Linked DNA regions of Homo sapiens: all the other regions are linked to region 5. Evidence: promoter capture Hi-C in 16 types of primary human blood cells and fetal thymus (Javierre and others, 2016). All regions are on one chromosome and are shown on one strand. Each heading gives the region's core, a stretch centred on a gene start or on the middle of the fragment in contact. The rest is flanking DNA. Distances are from core to core; before and after follow the strand shown. Region 1 has its middle 3.6 kb from the start of SLC17A3. Region 2 overlaps TRIM38 (tripartite motif containing 38). Region 3 overlaps SLC17A2 (solute carrier family 17 member 2). Region 4 has its middle 25 kb from the start of SLC17A3. Region 5 holds the start of CARMIL1 (capping protein regulator and myosin 1 linker 1).

Region 1 (6,079 bases), core at 3,481-5,980, 600 kb after region 5:
TGCTTTGTATTATTTCTAAATTTGCACACATGCTATCATGTAGCATTTATGGGCCATTCTGTAACCACTTTGGAAAATAAGTGGCATAAATTTGGCATACCTACATGTGCACAGTGAAGGCCAAACTCTTTCAGTTTCTTGTGGTTAACTCTTGCGCTAACACCCAGGAAGTCAAAAGCACTGTCACTGCTTTCCAAGAATGTGTATAGTTCTGCTTGTCCTTGTCTCATAGATGAGGCAAAGCCTTCAGACTCCTAGCTTTCTGTAGTTTATTTCCAGCTCTCTGAATGCCTTGGGTTCATAATCCAGACTCCTTTCTTTATATGAGCATTAGAGTCAGCCATGGAAATTTACACCTTGTTCTGTGCTTTAATGGCTTTCCTGGCCTTAGCTCATACTCATCACTTTGACTTTAAATCCCTTCTTACTTTATGGCCCTGAGGAGATCTCCTTTAGATTCTAAGTTTGACTCTTTATACCTATTTGAACTGTATTGTGAGAGGAGAGTGAGTAAACTACCTCTCAACACCCTGGCTGAGAAGTGGGAGCCTGGCAGTATATATCACAGATCAAGAATTCAGAAGGAGGAACCCGGGTCCTGGGGAGTCAGAGCTACCATTTACTGCGCATTTATTACATGTCATCCTCACAATGCTTTCAGGTAAGTTTTATTATATTCTTTATAACATAAAAGAAAAAAAACAGATTTCTTCCATCTGCACTTTAAGAATTTAAGTATGGAAAATTTAAGCCCGTTATCGTGTGGGGGTAGTGTCAATTTCACCTTTCTAGGTAAAAGATTTTTCCCTGAGTCATTTCTGAAGGACTCTGGACCCTGGGATAAATAATGATCAACTTTGGGATTCACATATCACAGGAAATGTTTCTGACCCTGAATTATCCAAGTCAGAAAACGTTACTTGGTTTTGCAATTTAATGTTTAACTTTATTTAAAGTGCTCCTGAGTTCTTTACATGCTACTTGGTTTGACTTGGTAGAAATAGACCCAAATTGTCTCTGTGTAGAAAGAATAACAATTCAGCTTTTCTTCACCTCTATGATTAAACACTTGAATATGAATTGAGATATTTCCTTGACTTAGGTTGTAATATCCATCTCTTTTAAAAAAAGAATTTTACATTTTCCTTTTGAATAAGATTTATTTTTAAACTGCTTTGTTTTAGCCATGGGGATCATCAGAAAAGATAGAGTACACATTTCTCCTTTAACAGTTATCTTTAGCCAGGCGTGGTGCTTCACGCCTGTAATCCCAGTGCTTTGGGTGGCCAAGGCCAGAGGATTACTTGAGGCCAGGAGTTTGAGACAAGCATGGGCAACAGTGAGACCTCCTCTCTACAAATTTTTTTTAGAAAATTGGCTGGAGATGGAGGACGCATTTGTAGTCCTAACTACTCAGGAGGCTGATGAGGAGGATTCCTTGAGCCTAGGAGTTCAAGGTTACAGTGAGCTATGATCATGCCAGTGCACTCCAGCCTAGATGACACAGCAAGACTCTCTCTAAAACAAAACAACAACCAAAAAAAAAAAAAAAAACAGCTATCTTCAGACTTGTTTCATAAGACTGTGAACATTGTTGTTAATAATCAGTCACATGACAGCTCAGCAGGATGCAGGCTCTGATTCTGGGTTACATTTCAGAGGACTCCAGTGCACAATCCTGTTGTGATCATAGGAAACCTGTCTCTAGTCTTCCTAGAGGAAGCCCAGGATGGGTCCAGGGAGAGGAAGCACCTTTAAGAGTCAGACCTTCCCTCAAAGCTCACAATGTCAGCAGGGATTCTGATGAATCAGGGGTAGCTGTCAAGCAAACACACTGAATGAGCCTAAGTCTTAAAACAGAAGACTTGACTAAATGGCAGTGGTCATTCACTGGAGCTTGGCTGGTTTTTCACACACACTCTGGTCTAAACAATGAACCCATATGTGATGTTATATCTGCTCAGAACCTTACATCTTCATGGTTCTGGCAAATCCTTTTTTCTCCAAGTTCAAGTCAGACTCCTGTTTTGCCTTACCATCTCTATGACAAATGGGGTCAATCTGGTCACTGTAGTTATCAGGCTGACATCATCTGGTCATGGGCTTGGAAGTCCATCTAGAACACTAGTGGAACACTCCATCTCTATTATTTTGTCTTCTATCGCTGAGCAAAATGGTGCATTTTTTGTTATCTACACAATGCATTAACTTATGTCCTAGATTGCCATACTGAAAACACGTCTTACTTTTTTCCTTACACATGTCTGCTTTCTAGTCTACTTTCCAGTTTCGATGCCATTTCTTTCAGCAACTATTTTGCCAGGAATGCCCAGCTAAAACTGCAAAATCATATATTGAGGACAATGGCTATGGAAAAGAAGAAAGAACAATTGTGACAAGTATAATCTCTAGGAGAATACACAAAAAAAAAATCAGGAGTGCTTATGGGCTGAGGTGTTATATGCTTTCAGATAGAATAGTAAACAAAATTGATATCTGTAGTGCATAAAGGATGTCATAATTATCAAGTGAGAAAGTGTTGCATTCTTTAACCAGCACAAGTTACAAAATTATACCATGCTGAATTCATATCAAGACAACTTCACCTACTACCAGGGACTTAGAGTAAATGTATTTTACTTTGTTGAGTCTCACTTGGAGATCATTGAAAAAAATTAGGAATAAATCATGAAACAAAATGAAACCATCCACCATACTTTGCATATAACAGAAAATCAATCAATGAAGGTCATCTGTCATAATTATCATTACCATTATTATTTCTATGACCACCTCTGAGACGTCATGATTAATATTCATGATTGAAATAAAGCAATTAAAAATCAAATTCATTCAAAATAATCAAATATAATTTAATTAAAAAGTTGGAGGCAGTCAGCCATCAGTCAAAAAATATTGTTACTGTATGCATTCCAAAAAGAAATGTAAAGGGATAGCATTCCCTAGAAACAATGAATAAAATAAAATTCCCTGTATTTAATAAACAGCATCTGTAAAACCTACAACAAACATTCCGAAGGTGAATCTTCCTGTTACAATCAGATACATAAAAGAGGTGTTTGCTACATCTATTCACTGGAAGGCCTAACTAGCACAATAACACAAGAAAGAAATGTGAAGCAATTAGAAAACAAGTAAAACTATGATTATTAACAGATGATATGATTGTCTACATAAGAAAACAAAAAAAATCTGTACATAAATTACTTAACTAATGTGAGTTTGGCAAATTTGACAGATGGAAAAGTGATATTCAAAGACTGACTGCATTTTAATTACCAGCCCAAAACAAAAAAAAAGATATTATAAAAAGAGATACAATTCACAATGGCAATAAAAGAATGTAACAGCCACAAAAGGATATAAAACCTAGGAATAAATCTAATAAAAGATGTAGAAGATCGTTACGCAGAAAATTGTAAAGCTTTATTGTAAGGTATTGAAGTCGAACTAAATAAAGAGACATAACATTTTTATGAACAGGAACATTCAAAAATGTAAAAATCTCGTCTCTCCAGACTAATCCATATGCCATTCCAACCAATATTCCAAAATAATTTTCCATATAATTTAATTTACTAAATATATCCTCAAATAAAGATGGTGGTTATCTCTTTCTTTGTAATCATTCTTCTACTCTGCCCCTCACCCCCTTTTCAGAGACTCCTTGTAATAAGGCCTATTTAACACTAAATACGTGCTGAACACTATTCTAAGCACTTTACATACAATAACACTTTTACTTCTCATAGCAAACTTCTATGGTAGGTACTATTATTATGCCAGTTTACAGAGAGGTTAAGTAACTTGCTAGTAAGCTACGGAGTCAGGAATCCAACCACCCAGAAAGTCTGGCTGTTGTGTCCATTCTCTTACCCTCCAGACTATTTCATCTGTTACGCAAACATTGAAACCAACTTTCAACATCAGTTTCCTATAAAATTTCCCTCTCATTATTCTTCCTTTTGTATCTTGGCATTACTGTGAATTTCACCTGTATCAATTTTCTTCCAAATTCCTGAGATCACCTGCCTACCTTCCTTCCCTTCCTTCCTTCCTTCTTTCCTTCTTCCTTCCTCCCTCCTTCCCTCCTTCTCTCCTTTCCTTCCTTCTTCCCTGCTTCATTTTTTTCTTATTCTTTCCTTCCTCTTTCCCTTCCTTTCTTATTTCTTTCCTTCTTCCCTAATTCTAAGGATATTTGTCATTTCTAAGAAAACCTTCCTTTTCACATATCTAATTTTTGTTTTAAGTATGTCAGCATATATTTCTGATATTATTCATTTATTTATGTTAAATATTTATACTAACATTCTTCTAGTTTGGAGAGGGGTTCTAGTTTTTCTGTTAATTTTGGTGCTCTGTCTTGAGGATGTTGAGTTGTACTTGTCTATTGGTTTTTGTTACAAGCGATGGTGTTGAATTGCCAAATAGAAGAATACCTTTCCAAAACTTAAATGTTATTTACTACTGAAGTTCAGGTTAATGAACTTTCTGATTCTGAGAACTTGTCTTAGCAGATGAGGGTGAATGTTGGTTGTGCTGCCGGGATGGGTGTATGAGGTGCTGGCATTTTGAATCTGGGAGCTCCATGTTCTTACCTGAAACATTTTTATTTCTTAGCCCCTAGTGACCACATCAATCACTTAAAGTGTAGCTAGATTGCAAGTCTTAGCTTGGAGAAAAATGAAAAGGGTAATTTCTCTCTTATTCTCCTCTTTTTTATTTTATTTTTTCCCTCTGCCTCCTTTATGAAGGGGAGTTTGCTGCGGCTTGACATGGCTTTTCTCAGCTTCCAACATTTACACCAAAAGCTCTTAATTTGGCTCAGTTCCTTTTGATTCCTCCCTCTCCCACTCAGACTCTTATTTTTCTCTTGGTGCTAAACCAGGATGAGGAGCAAGATCATGTCAATGTTGTTACAAGAGAGGATTAAGGGCCAAACCTATTTATTGGCCTTTGTATTGCAGAGTTTAGTTTTTATTGTACTCAGTTGTGGCTTCTATTTGTCAGACACCTGTGCTTACAAGTGATAGAAGTCCAACTGAAATGGCTTTGGAAGAGAAAGAAAGAGAAAAAGAAAATATGGAGACTGAGGTAGGTCACAGAATATAAGAATGAGCAGCTGTAACAAGCACAGTTCCAGGGACCAGAGACTGGAATTAAATCTCTGCCCCAAAATAAATGAAGACCTTTGGAACTCTTATTTCAGCTGTTCTTTTGCACCTTCTCCCTTCTCTTAAATCTACTCCAAGAGGCAACAGACAAGTCTGTTGGCAGTTTTGGAGTCTCATTCATCACATCCATGAAAGCGAAGAAAAAGCAGCTGTGTTCAAAACCTAGGAGAGGCTCTTATTGGCCCAGCCCAGAGTACTTTATTACCATTTGAACCAATTGTTGCAGCCTTGTGGGTGCAGTGCCAAGTTGTCTGATTGGTCACTCCCATCATCCCAATGATTTTCAACCTACAGGTCATTACTCTTATCAATTTAGCACCTCTTATCAATTTAGCCACTATGGTTTTTTAAACAAGATGGATGAGGCCCAAATAGAATGGAACAGATCATAGTGCATCCCACTTAGTAAGAGTCAGGATTATTTTGTGAAACTTTCGATGCTGCAACACATGTGTTTACATATAAGCCTATATATTAGTATTGCAGCACACTTTAAAAATGTATATTTTTTACTCTAGGTCAGTCATACTCCAAAAGGGTTAAAATTCTTCTCTTTACTGCACGTTTTATGTATTTTATTTCTATTGATAATGCCTCTGATTCCCAGACATAATGCTTTTGGTTGGACTTTCAAAAAGGACGGCCTAGAAGATAATTGTTCAACCATGTAATTGCTTCACTTTTCATTACCCTGTGGGTTTATTGGGCAGCTACATCTATTTCTCCTCTGGACTCCAAAGTCAAAGGTTGTGTTTTGTACGCATGCTTCTTTCTTTACTCTAGGTCAAACTCTATTCCACAGTCCAGTCTGGGAACTGACGTAAGCTTCTAGTTGTTAGACAATGGTAGCCATCAAAGAAACTTAAGGTGATCTAAAGTTAGGT
Region 2 (6,168 bases), core at 306-2,805, 690 kb after region 5:
AGACATGGTCTGCCTTTCTTGCTTATACTGGCCTCAAACCCCTGGTCTCCCTCCCATCTCAGCCTCCCAAAATGCTGGGATTAGAGGCATGAACCACTGTGCCCAGCTACTGTGGCATGTCTATGATAAAAGGAATATCAAGGAGTAAAATTCAAACTATCCGTATAAGAAAGGGAGGAGAGGGCAGATTTTAAGCACGATTCAGGAAGAAGAGTCAAAGATTTGGAAATGCTTGGTTGTGGAAGGTGAAGCAGAGGGAGAGGTTTTGTGTACCATCCAGATTTCTTGCCAGAAAGCATATTAAGGAAGGTGGGACTTTGCTGTTGGCAGCATGGAGGAATGGGCATAGTCCTGATGTCCTTTTTCCTTCTCTGTCCTGCCTAAATTTGAGGAAAATGTTGTCTCCAGTGTCAGGCTCCTTATTCTGTCCTCCATGAGGCAGAGGTGGTCTTGTATGAAGGCTCTAAGTCCTTCTAAGGACATGTCAATCATGACCACCACTCAGCTCATGGCAGCTCTTCCTTAAACTCCATGGAGCAGCTAATAACTGCGATGATCATATTCCCATTTGAATTACTTTTCCACCAAGTAGTAAGAAAAGGAACCAGCTTATGTTGAAATTGAGTTTTGTCACTTACTAGATGGGCAATTTTGGGCACGTTACTTAATGTCTTCACACCTTGGTTTCTCCATCTGTAAATGGGGATAATAGCAGTGTCCTCCCTCCCTAAAACACATACACAGGAGGTGGTTATAAGCTTTGAGGACATTAAAATATAGAATGCATAGAATAGCACTTGGCATATAGTAAGGACAATGTCATCTTTTGCTAAAACAGTTACATAGAACCTTTTCCTGAGAACACTCGAGAATGAATGAGTATACTTGTTGGGTTTACAGAGGACAGGAGACAATTCTTTCAGCATTGACTACAATTAGCAATTTGGGTCAGCTTCAAATCACTTTCAATAGAAATATGAGAAACTGTTTTGAAGAATAAGCTAAAAGCTTGACATGAATACTAAATCATTTTAAATTGGATTCATGATACCATTGTTCAAAAGATACCAGAATTCCCCTCTTCCATGAACTGTTTCTAATAACCAGCTGGCATCCTGATTTTTCCTGACTCATAAGACACAAAATTTCATGTGTGCCAAACACTGGTATTGGTTTTGCTTGGTTCAGCATGTTGTTTTACAAAATCTTTTAGATGATGATTACCTTGTTCTATATCCAACTTTTTCCTGGCAGGACTCTAGTGGTGGACATAGCTCAGGCTCTGGGTCAGCAGATGAGATTGCAATTGTTGCTCCACCACCTGGCAGTCATAGCCCTTTGGGCAAGTTATTTTACCCCTTTCTTAGTCTCATTTTCTACAGCACAGAAATGAAGTTTAAAATCCTACCAACTATTCAGGGTTGCCAAGGGGATCAGTATGTTCCTGCACATATAGCCTTTAGCATGCTCTCTAGCAAAAAACAATGAGGACTCTATAAATATTCACTATTATTCAAATATATCTTAGAAGATTGGGATTCCCCCTAGGTCCCTAATGAAGAGTCAAATTGAATAGGCTTCACTTATCAAATTTTTCCTTCAGGAAAAGCTCCAGAAAGCTGTGACAAAACTGAAGCAACTTGAAGACAGATGTACGGAGCAGAAGCTGTCCACAGCAATGCGAATAACTAAATGGAAAGTAAGAATCTGACTTCATTGATCTCAAGCTATTTTCCATTCTAGAGCTTAGGCATAGGGGATGATTGAGGAAAAGCACAATGAGGATTTATTCTCACTAAACCAGATTGAAAAAATGAAACCCAAGGAAGAAACCATTATTTGTACTTATGCCCCTGGTTCCAGGTTTACATCCATGAGTATTTAGCACCAATCTTTCCATCTTTAAACTGTAGTTGGCTGGGATTCCTGATACTTCAGTCAGAAGAAGCAGAATTAGTATGACTATTTACCTAGAAAAAGCATCGAGTGGGTCTCAAACTTTAAATACGTCAAAATAAACCTGGTTTGCAGGCCTCAACTCATTACCCTGGCACTTTTACCACAGTGGAGCATCTGGCTCTCAACTTTACAGGTACAGAAACCAAGCTTTGTGAACACTTAGAAAACAGGATCACTCCAGATTGAAATTCATACTACTCTAGCTCATGAAGCTGATGAAAGAAATATACTTTATTTATTTATTTATTTTTAAATTATTACTATTTTTTGAGATGGAGTCTTGCTGGAGTGTAGTGGTGCGATCTCAGCTCACTGCAATGTCCACCTCCCGGGTTCAAGCAATTCCCCTGCCTCAGCCTCTTGAGTAGCTGGGATTACAGGCATGTGCTACCATGCCTGGCTAATTTTTTGTATTTTAGTAGAGACGGGGTTTCACCATGTTGGCCAGGATGGTCTTGATCTCCTGACCTCGTGATTCACCCACCTCAGCCTCCCAAAGTGCTGGGATTACAGGCGTGAGCCACTGCACCCGGCCTATACTTGATTTATAAGTACATCACAAGTAATGCAACAACCTACACACTTGCAACTACAAACTTTCAGATTATTTCCGTGGCTGACTAACCTCCACATTATCAGAGCCACATTCTTTTATGGAAATATTTAGGTTTGTGCAAAAGTAATTGCGGTCTTTGCCATTAAAGTAAAGGCAAAAACCACAATTACTTTTGCACCAATCTTTATATTTATATAATTCACTAGCTTGCAGTAAAATCCCACAAGCTGATTACCAATTTTCTCTCTTTCAGGAGTCCTCTCTAACCTCTACCCTGATCTTTGTTTGTGGATGTTGCTCTTGAGCTCCTGAGTACACTCTTACTTCCCCCATTTCTAGGATCTTGGGCAATGGGGAAGACCTTGATTGTAACTAACATATATGAAAACCCGTCTATACAAGAGTTAAAGCTGCACCTGTCTCCTACACAAAAATTCCACCTCATCCTAAGTCAAAGACCCTTCTTCTATATCATAGTCATCAAAACACTGTATGAATTTATTTTTATTTTTTAATTTTTATTTTTTTAAGATAAGTAGAGAGTTTATTTGGGCCAAGTTTGAAGACTGCAATCCAAGAACATAGATTCAAATTGCCCTGAATACACACTCCCACTGCATTAATTTAGACAGCACTAATGGAAATTGCAACTTTACATCTCCTCAGATGAGAGTTTCACTTGATTTCTGTCAGTCTTACACATAGGAATGCTTAAGATGACCCTAGGGTAGTAGAACAGTATTTCTCAGTTAACCATAATAAATGCCTGTCACACTCAAAGCTCCCCCTGCCAAGAATTATGGACCCTCTTACCAGCCTGGTTGTCTTAAAATCCAGTCTGGGTGATGTTCATTATAAGCTTTTACTTCAAGAAAATCGCTCCAACTCAGAAATCTAACTTCTTAAATCATAAGTAAAAACCTCTTTTTATCCTTGTAACTGATAAAGTGTTTGAACTTGGCCCTAGTTTCACAATTAAATTATCTAGCACTCCTAACCCAGCTTTCTCCTGTGTCTTGGCTGAAGAACAAGAAAATTAATTGGGTGACTATAAGGAATCTGAGGCAACCTCTTCCACATCTGAGTGCCTGCCTCCCACACATGACTCTGCAGCAGGAAACTGGGGACATTCTTCCAGCTTCAGTGACTCATGAGAAAATAATGTCCCAGTGGCTGATTGTGTGTGTGTGTGTGTTTGTGTGAAAATATATATAACACTTAAGCATTTAACCACTTTTAAGTATATAGTTCAGTAGAATTAAGTGCTTTTACATTGTTACATTGTTGTGCAACCATCACCATTCCCATCTCCAAACTGCAACTCAGTTTCATCTTTCATCTTCTAAACTGAAACTCACTACCCATTAAACAATAACTGTCCATTTTCTGGTCTTGCCAACACCTTGTAACCACTATTTTACTTTCTGTCTCTATGAACTTAACTACTCCAGATGCCTTGTATAAGCAAAGTCTTACAATATTTGCCCTTTTGTTTCTGGCTTATTTTGCTTGAATGTCTTCAAGGCTTGTCATGTAGTAGCGTGTGTCAGACTTTCATTCTTGTTTATCCATTCATCCATAGATGGACATTTGGTTTACTTCCACCTTTTGACCATACTTTCTTGACTCCAGGAGAAGGTACAGATTCAGAGACAAAAAATCCGGTCTGACTTTAAGAATCTCCAGTGTTTCCTACATGAGGAAGAGAAGTCTTATCTCTGGAGGCTGGAGAAAGAAGAACAACAGACTCTGAGTAGACTGAGGGACTATGAGGCTGGTCTGGGGCTGAAGAGCAATGAACTCAAGAGCCACATCCTGGAACTGGAGGAAAAATGTCAGGGCTCAGCCCAGAAATTGCTGCAGGTGAGGCTGTGTACTTGGAGTAGGGAAAAAAGGTATGTTATAGTGCTATTAAAGGAGAATGGTAAGGAAGCATGGGAAGATAAAGTAATGTTTCTTTTAGATGTACATCAGTGCCATCAGGCTGGCCTTCACTAATTTATAGGGTACCTTTATGTCAATTAGAAAAATAAACTTCTGAGGGAACACAGCTTGGCCAAATGAAACCACGGGATAACATTTACCACTGTTTGCCTCCTTGGCCCATGTGCAGAGAACCCTGGTTGTTGACTCTCTCCTGAAATACTCCACTAGGTGACTGATGGGTGATGAAGTGGGGCAGCCAAAATGAGTGATAACCTTTTCCCTGATTTGCTTGTAGAACCCTTGCTCCAGAGCTGTTATGGTACAATCTACAGCTTTATCTGTAGGAAGATAAACATCTGGAGCCATTAATTCTGGTTCTAACTAACAGGATTGGTGACTATACTGTAAGGCTGAGTGTATAGCATGATTGCTTTACCACTGTGTGATACCTGCTACCACCATCTTAGTGGCAGTGGCCCAGTCTCAGGGCTGTGCACAGATTCACCACTAAGGACCTTTATGATAAGTGTTCTCTAATCTGGGCTCACTGTGAAGGAAATCCGATCACCAAAAGCTAGTCCTTACAGAGGGAGCATGGACAAAGCTCCTGGCCCTCAGACTTCAGCAAGGATGAGAATAGATGCAAATGTTGATAAACATCCTGCCATGCTGAATCTCCCAGAAGCTGGTAGGAATTATTCCATCTGGGTATCCATCAATACCTAAGACTGGTGGGAATTACTTTGTTTGAGTATCCATCAATATCTAAGACTAAGACTAGGGTAACTCTCTTTACTTCTTCGGGTAAAGCAAAGAAGAATAGCCCTGCATGACAAGCCCCATGAAATACCGATGTTCCCATGCTCACCTTTTCTTTTTGTTTCTTTATAGAATGTGAATGACACTTTGAGCAGGTAAGTCCTGTTTGAATGCAGGAGGGGAGGGGTGTGCGTATATAGAAATGAATGGAATGCACCTCTGAAGAAATCTCTCGCCTCTGCTTATTCTAGGAGTTGGGCTGTGAAGCTGGAAACATCAGAGGCTGTCTCCTTGGAACTTCATACTATGTGCAATGTTTCCAAGCTTTACTTCGATGTGAAGAAAATGTTAAGGAGTCATCAAGGTATGTTCACTAAAGAATTCCTGAATACTGTGGATAGAAGGGGCCTTATGCAGTAACCAAGTTTACCACCTGTCCCTTGGCAGGCTCACAGCCAGAGAGGTTGTTTAGTTAATTTCAGTAGAGCTTTCATACTTTCTCTAGTTAGTATGATTCACTGCTCAGTGAATGTGATGAGCATTGCATTCTGGTTATCTGTGCAAACCTTTCAAATTCTTATTCTTTCACTTATTAGCCATGTTACTCCAAGTGACTTGGTTTCCCCCTCTGAAAAATGAAAATATTAACAGCTCCTACTTCATTGAGTTATCATCAAAATTAAATGCATCAACATGTACAAAGTGCTTAGCCCTGTGACTGACACATGATCATAATAGCACATCATGGTATTAGATCTGATCATAGTGTTTATTATCAATAGCTCAGCCAACTCTTAGAGCAATGCAAGAAAAGTAGGTGAGTATGATAACCTATCATTCACATATTTTAGGAACTTGACTTAGATAACACAGATGACAAATGTTACAACCAATTTACAGATTCCAAAATGTTAGAACCATTTACTGAGTTTCCTGCTCCCTTGATTTTTTAAATCAGTGCTGACTAT
Region 3 (5,753 bases), core at 1,937-4,436, 650 kb after region 5:
AAAATACAAAAATTAGCCAGCCGCGGTGGCATGCCCCCTTACTCCCAGCTACTTGGGAGGCCGAGACAGGAAAATCTCTTGAACCCGGGAGGCGGAGGCTGCAGTGAGCTGAGATCATGCCACTGCACTCCAGCCTGAATGACAGAGGAAGACTCTATCTCAAAAAACAAACAAACAAACAAACAGCAAAATTGGCTAATTCAACTGGGAGGTGAGTGGAGAAAAGTTTTAACTGATTTTTCTCTTGGCAAAATTTATTTGCAAAGCTATGGACAAGAATCGTTTGCATTTCTATTGGTTATATAGAATTTACAGGGATATAAAATTGCTCAGAAACAATAAAACAGGCAGAGAACTGAATAGGATTGAGTAACCTATAAGAATGTGCCCAGGTAATACCTAGTTTTTCATTGAAGACATCACATAAACTGTTCCATTTTTAAATTTTTCACATTTAACTCTACAGTTCCCCCACCTTATAATCATAATAACCTCAATGAAATCTTATTTTTATTATTGAAGTAAGCAATGTCTCAAAGAAAAATAGTTCCAGTCAGTTTTAATTTGTCATTGGAAATGTATACTTCCATACTCCACAGAATCAAGATCTATGCCTTCCTTTCAAAGTTTTTTCTCTCAACAAAGAGCCCTATTTTCCATCATACTTACCTTTGTATCAAATTCCTTGATGGATATGCTGGAGTTATTGAAGGCATCTGCAACAGGCCCCTCAGTGGAGGCATTAGATAGACCTTGCTGCTGAGTGGTGTTCACCATGGCGATGATCGCAATGCTCAGACTCACACGCTGCGTTATCATGGTGAAGTTTGAGAAGTGCATGATAAGAGCCAGCCCATAGCGTAATGAACAGAAATCTGGACCTAGACAACAACACAGATGTATGTAGTGAGCATCCTGACTGAGACCCCTTTCTTTTCCTTTCTCTCACAGCTCGATCTGATAGAACTTTGGATGACACATGAAGTCTCATTGTCTTTTTTTCACCAAAATAGCCAGCACTACAAACCCACTTTGTCAAATTATTTGGTTGGCTTCAAGACAGCGAATATGGGATCTTATAACCAAGTAAAGCAAATATGGCCATCTTTCAAGGGGATAGGAAACACATGATAAATAGAGAAAACCCACATGTAAGGCATTTATGTCATATTGCTCCAAAATGAAGTGAATGGGGATGACAGTGGCAGAGCCAGTCACATAACCTTCTCAGCGTCAATAAAATTCCCTGGGCTGTAAGTGAATAGTCCCATCTGTTATGCACATTTGTTTATCACAAAGCTTGAGAGTTTATACATAACGAGCTGCCTTTGAATTAAGGTATTGCACATCCAAGGATTCTCTTTTAATACATTTGAGAGATGGTACTTTAAATGAGCACTTCGACTAATTCCCTAGTGTAATGTCTACTTGGAAATGTTATTGCTATGTGTCACTAGGTCCTGCCTTCACATATGTTCAACTTAAAAAAAAAAAAAAACTACGTGGGGTGCAGTGGCTCACGCCTGTAGTCCCAGCATTTTGGGAGGCTAAGGCAGGTGGATCACTTGAGGTCAGGAGTTTGAGACCAGCCTGGTCAACATGGTGAAACCCCATCTCTACTAAAAATACAAAAATTACCCAGGCATGGTGATGCATGCCTGTAATCCCAGCTACTCGGGAGGCTGAGTCAGGAGAATCACTTGAACCCAGGAGGCAGAGGTTGCAATGAGCCAAGATCATGTCACTGTACTCCAGCCTGGGTGACAGAATGAGACTCAATCTCAAAAAAAAAAAAAAAATTAATATGTAGAACTATTTTTACAAAGCTTGCAGGTGATGTGGTGCTGGAAGATATTCAATATATTGAAAGGACAAATTTTTTCTTTAAAAGCATCCCCATAAAATGGAACAACCACAGACCAATATTGAAAGGGTTCCCATGTGCATGATAGATTGGATTTTTCCTGCTTATTTGAAGAAAAGCACTAAAGTGAAAGAAAGAGAAAACCTGTGAAGACACAGATAAAAATATAATGGAAGAAATAATTTTTAATGGCCAAAAAAGCTCACAGATAAGAGTGGTGGTCTGGGAAATAATTATTTCCATTTTACTGGAGGTTTCCAAGCTCAGGAGAAAGAGCCAGCCGCTTGGTGAGAATATTATAGTAGGGATTCATACATAGGTTGGTTTAAAATGACTTTCCCGGGCCAGGCGTGGTGGCCCATGCCTGTAATCCCAGCACTTTGGGAGGCCGAGGCCGGTGGATCACGAGGTCAGGAGATCGAGACCATCCTGGCTAACACGGCGAAACTCCATCTCTACTAAAAATACAAAAATTCATCTGGGCATGGTGGTGTGTGCCTGTAGTCCAAGCTACTCGGGAGGCTGAGGCAGGAGAATCACTTGAACCCGGGAGGCAGAGGTTGCAGTGAGCCGAGATCGCACCACTGCACTCCAGCCTGTGAGACAGAGCAAGACTCAGTCAAAAAAAAAAAAAAAAAAGACTTTCCCAAAACTTATTCCACTCCCTAGATCCCAGGATTTATTGCTTATTTGGCTTAATTTCTCACAGATGATTTCATGGGGCTAAGGAAAAAGCAACAGGATCAGGGGCTGGAGCTGGCTCCAATGTTACACTGGGAGTATCTTTACGAAGGGTCAGTGTGATGCAGAGATGTGTAAATGTGTCGGAATAAGCTTCAGCTTATTAACATAGCCTGCAAACAAGAGCAGTGGCTTTACCTTTCCTGGTGGCAGGCTTCCCGTCCATTTAGCTTCTGTGGGAAATGGTACCACGCTTTGTGGTGGAGTTTCCCTGTGCCCTGAATCTCTTTTACTACGACAGTCTTTTATCTATGGAGAGAACATAATCCAAAACATAATACACAAATAATTTCCCCTTGTTAATGTTGCCTCCTCTTAGCATCAGTAAAAGTTTTGACCCAACACAGCTCTATAACTTACATTTTATGGGGCACTACTGGTATGCTTTTGGTTACAGGATTGTTAAAAGGAAATCTGGCTGTAAGTTCCAGCTGTGTGACCTAGAGCTAGTCATTTAAATTCTCTAATCATTCATTTCCTCATCTGTTCAATAAAGATAAGGCTCCTTTCTTAGTGCAGCTGGAAGAATTAAATGAAAAATTGCATGTACTTTATCAAACCACAGAGAAGCATGCGAAGGTGAAGAGTGGTATTGCTTGTAGCAGACCATAAGACAGGACAATTAAACTAAGCTCAAGAGCTAAGGAGGAAGGTTCCAGAGCGGTCTTTCCTTTCATTCTGATGGTGTTTCTCTCCCCTCTGTACCACCAGAACAATGTTCCATGTGCCTTCGAACATGAAGGATGACATTACATAACACTAATATGTATTACATTTAAAAGTTTAAAATGTTTATTCTCATGTTTGCTACACACAATGTGGACACTTGCTTGGACTGACAAAGTCTTCATATCACCTAGAAAATTATAATGAACAGGGACTAATTACTACAATTGTGAATAAATCCAGCTATTGTGACAGGCAAAGAGAATTCATGGCTCTAAATATGGACATGTTTAATTTAATATTTGTATACTAATCAAATTATCTTTGGGGATGCATACATTTGTTTCTTTTAGGAAAAATCCATATCCTAAGAATATCATCAATTTTCCATTCATTCCTAAATTGAAGCTTCTATGACTTTATTTTTTAAATTGCTTAAAATCCTTCAAGACATCTGAAATTTCTGTGACTTTAAAAACACATGTATCGGCCGGGTGCAGTGGCTCACACCTGTAATCCCAGCACTTTGGGAGACTGAGGTGGGTGGATCACTTGAGGTCAGGTGTTCGAGATCATCCTGGCCAACATGGTGAAACCCCATCTCTACTAAAAATACAAAAACAGCCGGGTGTGGTGGCACATGCCTGTAGACCCTGCTACTAAGGAGGCTGAGGCAGGATAATTGCTTGAACCCAAGAGGCAAAGGTTGCAGTGAGCCAAGATCGTGCCACTGCACTACAGCTTGGGGGACAGAGCAGGAATCCGTCTCAAAACAAACAAACAAAAAAACACATATATCAAACCTCTATTTTATCATTCAAGGCTTTGCACTGTTTTTGCACACAAAATTTAAAAGACTTGTCCGTACTTTAAAGATATTCATAATCTGTGACCTTAGGATGAAGGATTATAAAGAAAGGCATAGATGAAAAATTGTGTCCAAAAATATCCTTTGTAGTATTACTCATGACTGCATAATGTTAGAGATAAATTAACCTAATAATGAGAGTCTGGCAAGTCAATTTGATAGATTATTGTGATGGAAGCTATTTTAAAATGTTTTCGACAATATTGAATTACATTAGAAAAATGCTAGTACTCTAGTGTACAAAGCAGGATACGCTGTGCACATCCACATACAGGAATAGAAACTGATTCACACAAGTGCCAGTAATGACTATTTCTGGGTTACAAAACAGGATGATCACTTCATTCTTTGTGACTTTCTATATTTACCAAGTGATTTTGTAAATAATTAGTAGATACTCATTTTATATTCAGAAGTAGCTAAATGTATTTAAAAGAGCAATAATTGGACTTCATCAGCATGGCAAGTATAGTTTTCTGCTTTCCAAATATCTCTAGAATTCTGGGAATAGTATCTCTCCATCTAAATTTTGAATTTTGGGTGTTTGGAGATTTTATTGTTGTTGTTGTTGTTGTTTTGTACAATGGACCCAAATGGAGGCCCAATTGCTAGTAAGATCAGGTCAGCACCAGGACAGATACTGGTTGTTGCTCTGCCTTAGAAGGCCTCCAAGTCTTGCTAACATCTGGATATCAGGAGTTCAGCTCATTGCTCTACACTCAGATCCTAGCTGAAGTCATCTGTGGTCAAACCCAGAGTTTGGACCATTTTCTATTTGATTTCACTTTTTATGCAAGATCCCGTGGCTTGGCTGAAGGCAACTCTTTAACTGTACATGCAGCTGCAATTACTTACACTCCACTTAAAGCTTTCCCACCAACTTCTCCAATCTTATAAACACTGAAAGCTGAAAGAGACTCAGAGATCCTCTGGCCCAACTGTTTATTTTATTGATAAGAAAATTTGCGTAGAAAATTTGAAAAGTTGCCTGAAACCACATGATGCACAGAGCCAGCACCAGATCCCCTAATGCCTAGACTACTGCTTGTTCTACCTATTACAACTTCCCCTTTGTTTTCGTAATATTTTAATCACAAGCTTAAAACTCAATGGGGTAGCTCCATTTTGAGGTATTATAAAGGAGAATTTGTATATTTTAAATCAAGTTTTAATCATTTATTCTAGAAGGAAGTTTGATAATGAAAAATACTTTTAGGTTGAGCTTTGAATATTAAACATAAACACAACAAAACTACTTCTCCTTGCTCTTTATGTTACTGGAATTGTATCACAAACCCATCACTTTAGTTTTTCTTCCCATTCTCTGTTGCTGTCTAACGAGAAAGGATGAAAAGCCCTACTTAAGTTTTATGGTTTCAAATGCTACTTTGATTTTGTATCAATAGGTAATTTCAGTTCTTCGTTTCCTATTTTCCTTTGCATGAGACGAATGCAGAAATCAGGCTAACATACCAAACCATCCTAAACTGAGGTCTTTCATGGTAATGGGAAATGTTTTTCCAAAATAAGCACAGAAGCTAATAAAATTATGGAGGCTGAACACTGGCATGGTTGATATGTACTTAGAGACACTGGAATAATTATTAACCTATT
Region 4 (5,632 bases), core at 2,051-4,550, 620 kb after region 5:
TGTTCATTTCCTGCATTCTCAAGTAATGGTTTAACAAACTCATGAGCTTACTCTTTAATCTGAACCATGCTTAACTTCAATTATGTTGATTTAGTCTAAGGATGCAGAATTTATTTTATAGTTATGTAGGAACTGGAATCCAAAATGTAATATGCCTCCAAGCTTTTCTTTGTTGGCCTCTGAAGGAGCATCACCTCTACAACTTCAACGTTGTTATGAATACCTCTGGGGAGGTGTTCACCTCAGGACCCAAATTTGGAAAAAGGGAAGTGCCACTTTGGAGGAGTGCTCTGAGCAGCTGATCCATTAAATGTCCCGATCACATGCACGTGGAAGTGTCATTGCAATATCTGCACTAACAGAAGCTCAGTGACTTGAGAAGTGAGTCTGGAATTCTAAGAAAAAGGCAAGGCATCTCTCTTGCCACTTGTTATTTTTCCAGTCAAGCAACTGTGATAAGAGGGCATGGAGAGCAGGAAGAAGTGAAAAATCCCAGGAAAGTCTGGAGTGGAATCATTAAACCAATTCTGCTCCCTCTCTAGGCCAACTTGGGCCTATTATGAATAAGGAGGTCTCTTATAATCCATCTAACTCCACTCAGGAACAATTTGGGGATCTGAGACTGTGAACTCAGTGGGCAAAAAAATATTTCTTGGCCTATCATTATTCTCTGTAGGATGTTAAGGACAGGTTTCTGTATGTGGAGTCCTCAGTTTTTGCCTTCTCTCCTTGAGATATTTTTATGCTATTTAGTAATTGATGGCCACAGTTGATCGACCACATTTCTGGGCAACTCTAATAATCCTTGTTATATTAATCATTGGACCAATCTTGATTGTGTATGACCATCATCTTGTAGCTACCACCTCTATGTGGATGCTCTCCTCACCCTGCTTAAGTGCCAATGTCTGTGCTATGGGCCTACCTGTCACATGGATAATCTCTTCACTCCAGTCAGGCTCCAACATTAACACAGGGCTGTTCTCTTGTCCCCCTTTGAAGACAGCTTCATCACCCTATTCAAGTTGCAGTACTCTCACTGGGCCTCCACTGTTGCCTCTCTCTCACTCTGCTTAGGTTTCTTCACTCCACTCCAGGCAACTGTCACTAAACATCCTTCCCCCATATATACACAGACATCTACCTTGCTTGGCCAAACCCACTGGATTTCAGACTCACTCATTCAGAGAGTAAGACAGAGAGGGGTTCATTTTTTATTTTATTTTATTTTTTATTTTTTGAGACGTTGTCTCACCCTGTCGCCCAGGCTGGAGTGCAGTGGTGCAGTCTTGGCTCACTGCAATCCCCACGTCCCAGGTTCAAACGATTCTCCTGCCTCAGTCTCCCAAGCAGCTGGGATTACAGGTGCCTGCCACCATGCCCAGCTAATTTTTGTATTTTTAGTAGAGACAGGGTTTCGCCGTGTTGGCCAGGCTGGTCTCGAACTCCTGACCTCAAGTGATCTACCCGCCTCGGCCTCCCAAAGTGCTGGGATTACAGGTGTGAGCCACTGCGCCCAGCCGGGGTTCATCCTTAATACATACATTAGAGATATAGATTCTGTTTTTATCTAAAAAGTCTTTATAAGGCCGGGCGCGGGGTCACGCCTGTAATCCCAGCACTTTGGGAGGCCGAGGCGGGCGGATCACGAGGTCAGGAGATCGAGACCATCCCGGCTAAAACGGTGAAACCCCGTCTCTACTAAAAATACAAAAAATTAGCCGGGCGTAGGTGGCGGGCGCCTGTAGTCCCAGCTACTTGGGAGGCTGAGGCAGGAGAATGGCGTGACCCGGGAGCGGAGCTGCAGTGAGCCGAGATCCCGCCACTGCACTCCAGCCTGGGCGACAGAGCAAGACTCCGTCTCAAAAAAAAAAAAAAAAAAAAAAAAAAAAAGTCTTTATAAAAATCTGATTGAATGGTTGAATGCTGTGCTAAAATCTGCATAATATCTTACAACACTTCTGTGAATCACGAGACAGTTTTGAATGCTAAATGTCAGTTAACAGATCTAAAGGGACCAACATCTGCTTTCCCAAATTATATGAAAGAAGATCCTGATCCCTCATCAGGTGAAACTCACATCAGACAACAGTGTCTGCATTTCTCCAAAACCCGCCTCAGCCCCATGGCCACTTTCCAGGGTTATCCTGCCTACCAAGCACTCTCTTTCCTCAGAAAAACTTGGGGGAAAATGTAGAATAATAATTTTTTGAAGTTCTGACCAACTTCTTGAATCACTCAGCATGTTTTTGACTGCAGGTACAGAAAACGCTGACTCAACAAATTTAAACACTATATAAATTTCTTATCTCCCCAAACAGGACATCAAAGGCAGAAAGGTTCCAGAGCAGGGTGATCAGAGCTCTGGCTCCACTGCCCTCAGTCTTCTTGCCTCTGCTCTCCTTCACAGCAGGCTTTACCCCCCATGCTGGTCACAGTTTCAAGTGTCCATGCAGACACAAGTTAAAGGCAGGAAGAAACAGTGCGTTTCTCTTGGAGATCAAGGAATGCCTTTCCAGAAAACTCCCCCTTATGTCTCATTTGCCAAAACTTGGCCTAGTCTCAGGTGCTGCCTGAGCTAATCAGCTACAGAAGAAGGGACCACATGACTGGTGTGGACCAGTCAGAATTCACCACATGAAGCTAGTAATGTGGCTCACACTTCCCAGGGGGATATGGCCAGGTAGCAGACAGTGGATCGCTGAACAGAATACTGATAGATTTCAGCACCAAGGTTAGAATGGCTACCACACCTAATCCCACCCTATCCCCGTTTCCTTCTTTAATTTTTTCCATAGCACTTATCAGTAGCTGACAAACTGTATATGTTTTTACTTTTTTATTGTCTGTAGCTCCCAAGTAGAATACAAACATCTGAAACTCACTGTATCCATCCTGAGTAATGTTCTTTTCAGCTCAGTCACAATCATTTTTTGATAGCCTATCCTATAAGCTTAACTTATAGTGTTAATCAGTATTAATACATCTTAGTGGGAAAGAAGGAAAAAATAAACGATCACACACACACACACACACACACACACACATACATTTACGTAACAGAGCAAGTGTGAAAATACCTAAAGGCTTTATAGCTCCTTTTGTCAATGGATACATGACAGCATTTTTGGCATTCTTTACTACTCTTATTCTATGCTCCATTTGTCTTCAGTCAGCACCTCAGCTGCCCTTATGTTTTACTTGGTAAGGCAAATTCCTAAATGAGCCTGGTAATTAGTCATCCAGCTTATAGGAAGGTACTATAGTTTTTCATTAACTTTTTCACTGGGCTTGAGAGTAGTAAGGACTCCCAGAGAATTCCTTGTGTTCCAAAAGTACTTCTCCTTGACATCTTGGTATAGGATTAATAACTGTTTACCTTTGATAATCAGGAAGAATGACTCCAGCTAGTACAGTTACGTGATGCCTATACATTCCTTTTTTTCTGGGAAAAATGTAATGTGAAATTAAGTGCAAAAACCATGCCTTGTTTATGTATGTATCAAACACTTCTAGAGCTTTCCCAATACAGTTCTCTTCTCAGCAAACAAGAGGACTATACCCTCATCCCCACCCCTGCACTTAGGTGTAGCCAATGTGTTGTAACTTAAAGAGGAGAGGGCACTGGATGAAGGGAAATCTGTCTAACAAGCTTCTTTATTTCACCTAGTGGAAAAAAGCCTTAATCTGCAGTGGGGCAGTTTTCAAGGACATAGACTGAATTGGCTCATGCATTTATGGAAGATGAGGAGTCCCATGATCTGTAATCTGCAAGCTGGAGACCCAGGAAAGCTGGTGGTATGATTCAGTCTGAATCTGAAGGCCTGAGAACCAGAGGAACTGATGATGTAAATCCCAGTTCAAGAGCAGGAGACCAGATGAGATGTCCCAGCTCAAGCAGTGAGGCAGAAAAAAAGGCCCAAATTCCCCCTTCCTCTGCCTTTTCTTCTATTCAGACCCTGAATATCAGGTGGCATAATGCCATCCACACTGGGAAAGACAGTTTACTTTACTAGGATCACCTATTCAAAGGCTAATCTCATCCAGAAACACGCTCACAAACACAGCCAGAAATAATGTTTAACCAGATAGCTGGTTATCCCCTGACTCAGTCAAGTTGACACAAAAAATGAACTATTTCAAAGCTTACTGTAATCAACAGTTTTGTCAAAAAGATAGACACAAATCAGTGGAATGAGATAAACAGTCTAGAAATAAACCAACAAAAATATTGCCAACTAAGGCAAAGGTAATCAATGGAAAAAAGATAGTCTTAGCAACAAATAGTACTGGAACACCACAATGTGTTAATAAAGTGAAACTGGAGACATCTCTCACACCTTATACAAAAGTAACTAAAAATAAATCAAAGGACTAGATGTAATGTATCAAACATTACATCTTTTAGAATGTATCAAACATTACAAGCTTTTAGAATAAAATATAGAAGAAAATTTACATGATCTAAGATTTGGCCCCAATGAAGTTTTAGCTATAATAACAAAAGTATTAGTCATGGAAGAAAACAAAATTGATAAGTTCAGGTGGGCTAAATTAAGGGAAAAAAATCACTTTGCAGTAGAGAAACCTGAAACATTACCTAAACCACATGATGAAGGTTAATATCAGTGATGTCATGTGGATATCATGTTCTCCCTAAAATGATGTGACAAGAAGGGCCCTTTGCCCTTGTGGTATTATTTCAAAAAATCTATAACTCCGGTGTAATTATGAAAAAAAAGCAAATGATCTTCAGGACTGTTAAGGTCATGAAAAGCAAGAAAAGACTGAGACATTGTCACAGACAAAAAAAGACTAGGGAGATATGACAAGAAAATGCAGTGTGGTATTCCAGATTGGACCTTGGAACAGAAAGAAAACATTAGTGGAAACAGTGGTGAAATCCACATAAAGTCTAGGGTTTGGTTAATAGAGTTTCATGTATCAATGTGAGTTGCTTATATTTGACAAATGTATCATAATAATGTAAAATCCTAACAATGGGGGAAAGCTAGGTGAAAGATATATGGGAACTCTCCTGTACTGTCTTTGTACTATCTTTGCAACTTTCCTGAAAATCCAAATTATTCTAAAACAGAAAAGTTCATGCTATTAGAAGTGAGGATAGAGGTTACCTTGAAGAAGCTGAGGTCTAGAAGAGACCATGAAGGGTCTAATTAGCTAACACACGTTGAGTATCCCTTATGCTTAGAACCAGAAGTATTTCAGATTTTTTCAGATTTGGAATGTTTGCATTATACTGAGTATCTCAAATCCAAAAATCCAAAATCTGAAATATTCCATGAGCACTCCTTTGAGAATCATGTTAGCATTCAAAAAGTTGCCGATTTTGGAGCATTTTGAATTTCCAATTTTTAGATTAGGAATACTCAACCTGAGTAGAGGCTGCCTGCTAATTACCTGGGAGCTAATTACATGGATATGTCATTTTGAGAAAGTTTAGCTTGCTGATATGGATGATTTTCTGGATAAAAATTATACTTTGATAACAATTCTTTTAAAGGAGACAATAGTTATTAACTTTTAAGTACTTTTTAGCTCTACAATTCAGAATTCTTTAGTGCTAAATATTACATATTTTGAAACAAAAGTTTTGTTTATATTTATTTAT
Region 5 (6,015 bases), core at 1,110-3,609:
TAGTTGTATGGCTTAAACACAGCCACATGTAAATACTTACTTAGATGAAGCTATGGCTAATCACATATGTAACACAATCAGTTTCATGTAGTGGTTTGATCACTCGTGTATTCAAGACTATATAAACAGGGATGAATTTGAGGAAGTTGGAGTGATGGAGTGAGAAAAGTTTGTTTTTGCAGCAGTAGCAGTAGAAGGGGCAGGCCGATTCAGTAAACAAGCACACATTTCAGAATGCAAACTGCATTCTCCAAGCTGGCACCATGGTTTTACGGTGCTAGGGATGTTTACTGCTTGTTGGGTTTGCAGCTTTATAAACAGTGCTCCTTGGAGTTCTCTGCTTGCTATTCTGAAACATATTTGAGTTTTGCAACCGAGAAGTAAATGACTTTGATTTCCAAAATCAGTCAGTCATTTTTCAGTGTTGTGATAGGAGATTCATTTGAATTCACTTCTTCAGAGATGCAGGAGCCAATCAGGATCCTGTTGCAGTGAAAATGATTCTTTTATTGAAACCCCAGCTTCCTTTAAAAGAAGCCAAAGAGTACTGAATTACAGAACTGCCATACAGCCTTCCCTTTATTCTTTCCATCACCCAGGCCACAGGAAAAAAAAAAAAAAGACAAACTTTTGTTCTTATTTTCACAAGTTATCACATGGTTTGGAAACTTCAGGGCATTTCTGAAACTTCATTGGTATGTGCCAGAAAAGTCCTCTTTAACACACCAGGTTGAATGAAAGACAGTTTGAGATGTTAATTTCCATTTACTGCAGAAAAAATATATTTAATGCATTAAGGAAATGTCTAGCTTAAAGAAATTGCCCACTTTTGAAACAAATGGTTGGAGGCCTGAGGTCCAAAGCTCTAAAATCAGTTAACAAATGTTTATTGAACACCTATTTTGAACTAGGCTGTTGAAGAAGTTCAAAAGTCTAAGATAAATTCCCACTTTCAACTCACCTACAGTCTAGTTGGGCAGAAAAAATCCAAACTCAGGGGACAATGCAAGAGTTAGATAGTAAAACCAGACAAATACACAAGCAATGAAACACGACACCATATGGTTGGGTTTAGAAAAGTGTTTCAGGCAATACATATTGTAGAGGCTTAGGGATCACAGTAATCTGAAAATCCCTGGAAAATATTCACAAAGAAGGTAGACCATTGGGATGGGTTTGAAAACATAGATAAGAATCAGATAACCTTAAGAGGAAGGAGGAAGCAAACAGTGAGTCTGGTTGTAATAGAGAAGGGAGTGGGAGAGGTTAAGGAGGGTGGGAAGGGGCCAGGTTGGCAAATCCTTAGTGGTAAGGCCTGGCTGTGGGGCTGAAGATGATTCTAAGGGGTCCAAGGTCAACAGCAGTGTTTAAAATTAGATTGCCAAGTGCATGGATTCCCTTTCCTTTCCTCCTTTTCTGTCCTTTAAAAGCAGAACCTGATTAGACAGTCTGGGACATTCCCAGCCCTAGGCTAAAAAGCAGCGATTGAGGCACAAAGTATTCTTGGCCCTGAAGTTGAACCTCTGGGGATGGAGCTCAGGGAAGTCATAGGGAGTTTGGGCCCAGGTAGGATCAGACCTATCCGCAGGCTTACATAGGCTCCAGTGATTAAAGCTCAGCTTCCTGAATATGCCCCGAGGATAAAAGAGACTTTTCCGAGTGAAAGGCATTTTCCAAGGCGCTCTCAACGGGAATGTCTGAGATAGCGAACTGCGGCTGCAGAGCACCAGCTGAACGCACACACACAAGTGTCTTCTCACGGTATGATTAGTGTTCACAGGTTTCGTCTAGCTCATCAGAAATGAAGAATAGCGATGATGAAGTGACATGTCACCGGGAGGGTTGAAAAAGAAAAAGTGCGTAAGAGGGTCCCAAAAAGAACCAGCTTCCGTGTAGACGGGTCTGCAGAATCTGCCGTCTCCCGTCTTCTGGGTCCCCTGGCCCGCCCGGAGTGGGGACAAGGAAATGGAAAGCCCGGCTCACCCGGCTCTCCTCCCTCGCAGCCAGCAGATGGCTCCCGGGCTCTCTCGCGAGCCCGCTCGCCCCCTCTCCAGACGCAGGGCTTTTGCGGTTTGGGAGGGAGGCTGCGAGGAGGGGCGCGGTGCCCGCCGCCGCCACCGCAGCACCGCACAGCGTCTCTCCTGGGGGTGCGACCTACGCCGGGGACCCAGCGCTCGGGCACCGGAGGCCGGCCTCGCACCGGTGCGGAGGCCGGCTCTCGCGAGGTGAGGAGGAAACGCAGGAGGAAGAGGAGAAGGAGAAGGAGGAGAAGGAGGAGGGCCGGAGCTGCCCCCGCCCAGCCGGAGCCCGGCAGGAGCGCGAGGAAAACCTACTCCCCCCGCCCCGCGCCGCTCTCCCCGCCCTCTCCCACGCCTTCCGCTTTCACCTAGGGCTGTAGGTGCGGCGCGGAGGCTGGGCGGGAGCTACGCCGGCCCAAGCCCCGCCGGGGACCAGCGAGCCGGGAGGAGGAGCAGGCGCCACAGCCGCCCCGCGCCCCGCGCCCGCTTGTAATCCGGTCCGCTCCTTATTCAGCCGCCGGGAACTGCGAGGAGGCGTCATGTAGCAGCAGCAGCAAATCCGCCTCGCATTTGCAACTCTTTTTTTTTTTTTTGGTGGGGCGGGGGGCGCGCGGCAAAATTCTGTCTCCGCCCCCCCTTTTCTTGCCCACTTCCATTTGCAAGCTGCATCTGCCTCTCTAAAAAAATTGAGGAGTTCGGGGAAGGGCAGGGGGCCATAAATCAGAGTTGGACCTGCAATAACCCCCACACCTACAGGGCAACCATGACCGAGGAGAGCTCTGACGTTCCCAGGGAGTTGATAGGTAAGATTCACGCGGTTGTTGGTTTTCCACCTTCCTCTGCGTACTCCTCACCTCTCTCTCCCTTCCCACCTCTGCTTTCCCGCAGGTCTCGAGAAGTCTTGGCGCCCCTTAGGGCAGAGTGGTGTTGGGCAGGGTCACTGGGGGTGCCGGGAAGTTTGTTCCCATCCGACCGCCTGTAGAGCCAAGTGCAGAGAGGGAAGGCTTCGGGGAGGAATCGGGAGTCCTCGGGAGGTGGGTGGGAGGAGGGTCTCGACTGTGAGCCCTGGGCACCTCCTCTTGCCCGGAAGCGGGGATCCAGGTTGGCGAAAGAAGGGGGCGGGCCATCTTAGACTTGGGAGTTCTGCAAGCGAGGGGAGCCCTTTACAGCTCCCAGCCCACTGCCCCAAACTCGGGAAAGTCCGGGAAAGCCTATTGGAAGGACAGGTGGCGAGCGCACAGTAGGTCGTCTCCGGCACGTGTCAGGCGCTTTCCTGAAAATGCCCCGCGGGAGGTGATCTTCTGACACGCAGACTTGGGGGAGTGGGCGCTAGTCTGGTAAAATGACTGGGCTTGGCAAGGTGTGGCTTGGTGTAGCCAGCTGGGAGCGAAAGGGTTACAGGGCTGACGCAGACTCAGGCCAGGAAATAGAGGGTTAATGATAAAAGCCTTATTTTAATAATGATTAACCTACCGATTCTCCCTATAGGGGATCTCTTAGGGAACCCGTGTGTGTTACGCTGTGCAAGGTGACCCATTGTTTGAGTACCTTGAGGTTTTTTTTTTTTTGGTGGTGGTGGGGGCGGGGCTGGTTAAGTCTTGGGGTTTAACTTAATTATCTGGAGGGTTAAAATGGCAGAGCTGAAATAGGATGGGAGAGTGTTCTGAAAACCTAGCGTTTAAGCATGTATATGTGTGTAGCATGTTATACTGTAACAAGGTATGTGCGTCTGTGTACAGATGTGTTTTGAGCCCTAGTGACCTATATTCCCTCCTGTACCATTCTTGGCACACTACACAGCCTACAGCTCACAAAGATGATGTTTAATCGGCGCTGACAACAAGAGGAAGTTCTGAGCACCCGTTGATCTCCATGTGTGGAATTTGCCCCTCTGTTGTTTCTTTTAGCTAATAATACTTTGGAGGAATTTGTGTATGCCCTTCCGTTGGTGACTGTTAACTCAGCAGGTAAAACTTGATGTAGAGAGGCTGTTGCTAGGTTTGTATGGAAGCCCCTACTTCTGCTGAATTACAGACAAACCTGATCTTTTACCAGAATTTACAGTATGAAATTATTCACAGACGCACGCGCGTGTGCGCGCGCGCACACACACACACACACACACACACACACACACGCACCTCTCATCATGATCCCAGCAGATCCTCTTCTCTCTCCCCAACCCTGTGGAGTCTGCATCTTTTGCTGGAGTGAGTGACACATCCGGTTCTGGGAGGCTGCGACCTTTCCAACACCCCAAGCAAACGCCAGAGGCTCTGAAGACGCCTCCAGAGGTCCTGAGAATGAGTGTAGGGCAGGGCTTGCCTGGCTGGTCAGGGGATAAGGATGGCTAAAGTGGGTGGCAGATTTTTACTTTATATAAGGAGTTGTCCTTAAGTCTGGAAATGGAAAGTGTAGGTAATTACTTAGGCCCAAGAGAAAGAGTGAAGGGTAGAGTGGAAATAAGGTGTCTGGGTTTCTATTCATGGTTCTCAAAAGGAATAGTTTGTATATTTTAAAAGTTGAGTTTGACCTTTATCTTGAAATGGAATTTTTGTTTTTATTAAGTATTGCCTATCTCTTTCAAGAGAGTGACATATTATGCCCGATATGATTTTTCTGGGCCTTTCAGTGGTCAAGTTAGGCTGGGATAGAATAAATACCTGCACCTGCTTTCCTCTAAATTCAAGTGCTCACAAGAGTTCTGCTCTGATCAATTCAAAATGGCGACCGACCACATGAAAACCTCTATATATTCCCTTAAGATTCCCTCAAGATATTTAAAAAGTGTTACAGACTTGGCTGAGCGTGGTGGCTCACCCCTGTAATCCTAGCACTTTGGGAGGCCGAGGCAGGTGGATCACCTGAGGTCGGGAGTTGGAGACCAGCCTGACCAACATGAAGAAACCCGGTCTCTACTAAAAATACAAAAATTAGCTGGGCGTGGGGGCACGTGGCTGTAATCCCAGCTACTCGGGAGGCTGAGGCAGGAGAATCACTTGAACCCGGGAGGCGGAGGTTGCCGTAAGCCGAGATCAAGCCATTTCATTCCAGCCTGGGCAATAAGAGTGAAACTCCATCTCAAAAAAAAAAAAAAAAAAAAAAAGTGTTATAGACTTTATGTAGAAACAATTTAAATGTAGAGAAGAATAAGAAGACTATATGTCACTCCTGTTACCACTTAGAGGTAGTTATTTTAAAGGGTATATGATTTTCCAGTCTGTTTCCATGTGTATATGTTCTTAAGTCAATTTCAGATGCCCATTTCCCGCAATTCTTTTTTAGGGGAGGGAGGAGTGGCCTGTGCTTGTTTCTCGAGTTCTGATAAGATAGGAGCTTTGTGAAGAACTCATAGTGCAGTGAGCTCTTCTACATGTTCCCTTGCCCCAAACATTCCACCTCCTTGCTGTTCCTTGAACAGGCTGTGCTTTCTCAGATTTCCATGCTGTTCTTTATGCGTACACTGTCTTTTTCTCCCCGTTTTCACTCTTTATCTCAGCAGCTCTAAACTTTCATGGCGGTATTTCCAAGAAGAAAATTTTGATTACCCCTTATTAAACATATATTTGTTAAACTACATGCTCCATTTAGTGTGTATAATCTAAAACACAAACTGAAACACACATTGTAAGTAGAAATGAAAATTCTATTTTCTTCTTTCATCTCAATGGATTATATTGTACACTCTACTTTGGAAACCAGTGATCTTATTTCCTATGCCTTCAAGATTCAGCTCAGGGATCCTCTCCTCCCTGAAACCTTTGCGTGCTTCCGAATCCATGATCTTATGCATTGTGTGTGAATTTCTTTTATGACATCTCTCAGTGACCTCCACTAGATTGCAAACTCCTGTGAAATGCAAAGACCATCTCTATCTAGCACCTAGTAGAGTACCTGACATACAAGAGGTACTCCTATGTACATTTATTTGTTGAACATGTGAATAGACCAAAATGATTATAATACAGAATACAGAGGTATGGGAGCATAGAGGAGG

The links. Contacts are between HindIII fragments. The CHiCAGO score rates a contact against its expected background, and 5 or more counts as called.
Region 1: a contact is called between a fragment that was not itself captured here and the fragment with the promoter of CARMIL1 in region 5, in 2 of 17 cell types (erythroblasts and megakaryocytes). The highest score is 6.0, in erythroblasts.
Region 2: a contact is called between a fragment that was not itself captured here and the fragment with the promoter of CARMIL1 in region 5, in 1 of 17 cell types (megakaryocytes). The highest score is 5.3, in megakaryocytes.
Region 3: a contact is called between a fragment that was not itself captured here and the fragment with the promoter of CARMIL1 in region 5, in 5 of 17 cell types (megakaryocytes, erythroblasts, M0 macrophages and 2 more). The highest score is 9.1, in megakaryocytes.
Region 4: a fragment that was not itself captured here is called in contact with the fragment with the promoter of CARMIL1 in region 5 in 3 of 17 cell types (megakaryocytes, erythroblasts and M2 macrophages); the score reaches 10.9 in megakaryocytes.

The regions. Positions count from the first base shown.
Region 1 is chr6:25,874,851-25,880,929 of GRCh38, forward strand. No RefSeq gene overlaps it. Among named protein-coding and RNA genes, the nearest start is that of SLC17A3, 3.6 kb to the left of the region's middle. The HindIII fragment of the contact is 2,575 bases long and covers 3,444-6,018 here.
Region 2 is chr6:25,967,722-25,973,889 of GRCh38, forward strand. It overlaps TRIM38 (tripartite motif containing 38), which reads left to right. Exons shown (of 8, transcript NM_006355.5): 4 at 1,604-1,699; 5 at 4,148-4,378; 6 at 5,333-5,355; 7 at 5,452-5,564. Among named protein-coding and RNA genes, the nearest start is that of TRIM38, 8.0 kb to the left of the region's middle. RefSeq lists an enhancer at 3,298-4,497. The HindIII fragment of the contact is 1,098 bases long and covers 1,007-2,104 here.
Region 3 is chr6:25,923,026-25,928,778 of GRCh38, forward strand. It overlaps SLC17A2 (solute carrier family 17 member 2), which reads right to left. Exons shown (of 12, transcript NM_001286123.3): 2 at 2,744-2,854; 3 at 670-881. The coding sequence starts at 2,771. Among named protein-coding and RNA genes, the nearest start is that of SLC17A2, 4.8 kb to the right of the region's middle. The HindIII fragment of the contact is 981 bases long and covers 2,697-3,677 here.
Region 4 is chr6:25,896,185-25,901,816 of GRCh38, forward strand. No RefSeq gene overlaps it. Among named protein-coding and RNA genes, the nearest start is that of SLC17A3, 25 kb to the left of the region's middle. RefSeq lists an enhancer at 1,932-2,521. The HindIII fragment of the contact is 699 bases long and covers 2,952-3,650 here.
Region 5 is chr6:25,277,015-25,283,029 of GRCh38, forward strand. CARMIL1 (capping protein regulator and myosin 1 linker 1) reads left to right here and starts at 2,360. Exons shown (of 37, transcript NM_017640.6): 1 at 2,360-2,821. The coding sequence starts at 2,782. RefSeq lists a silencer at 2,088-2,557. The HindIII fragment of the contact is 9,381 bases long and covers 1-6,015 here.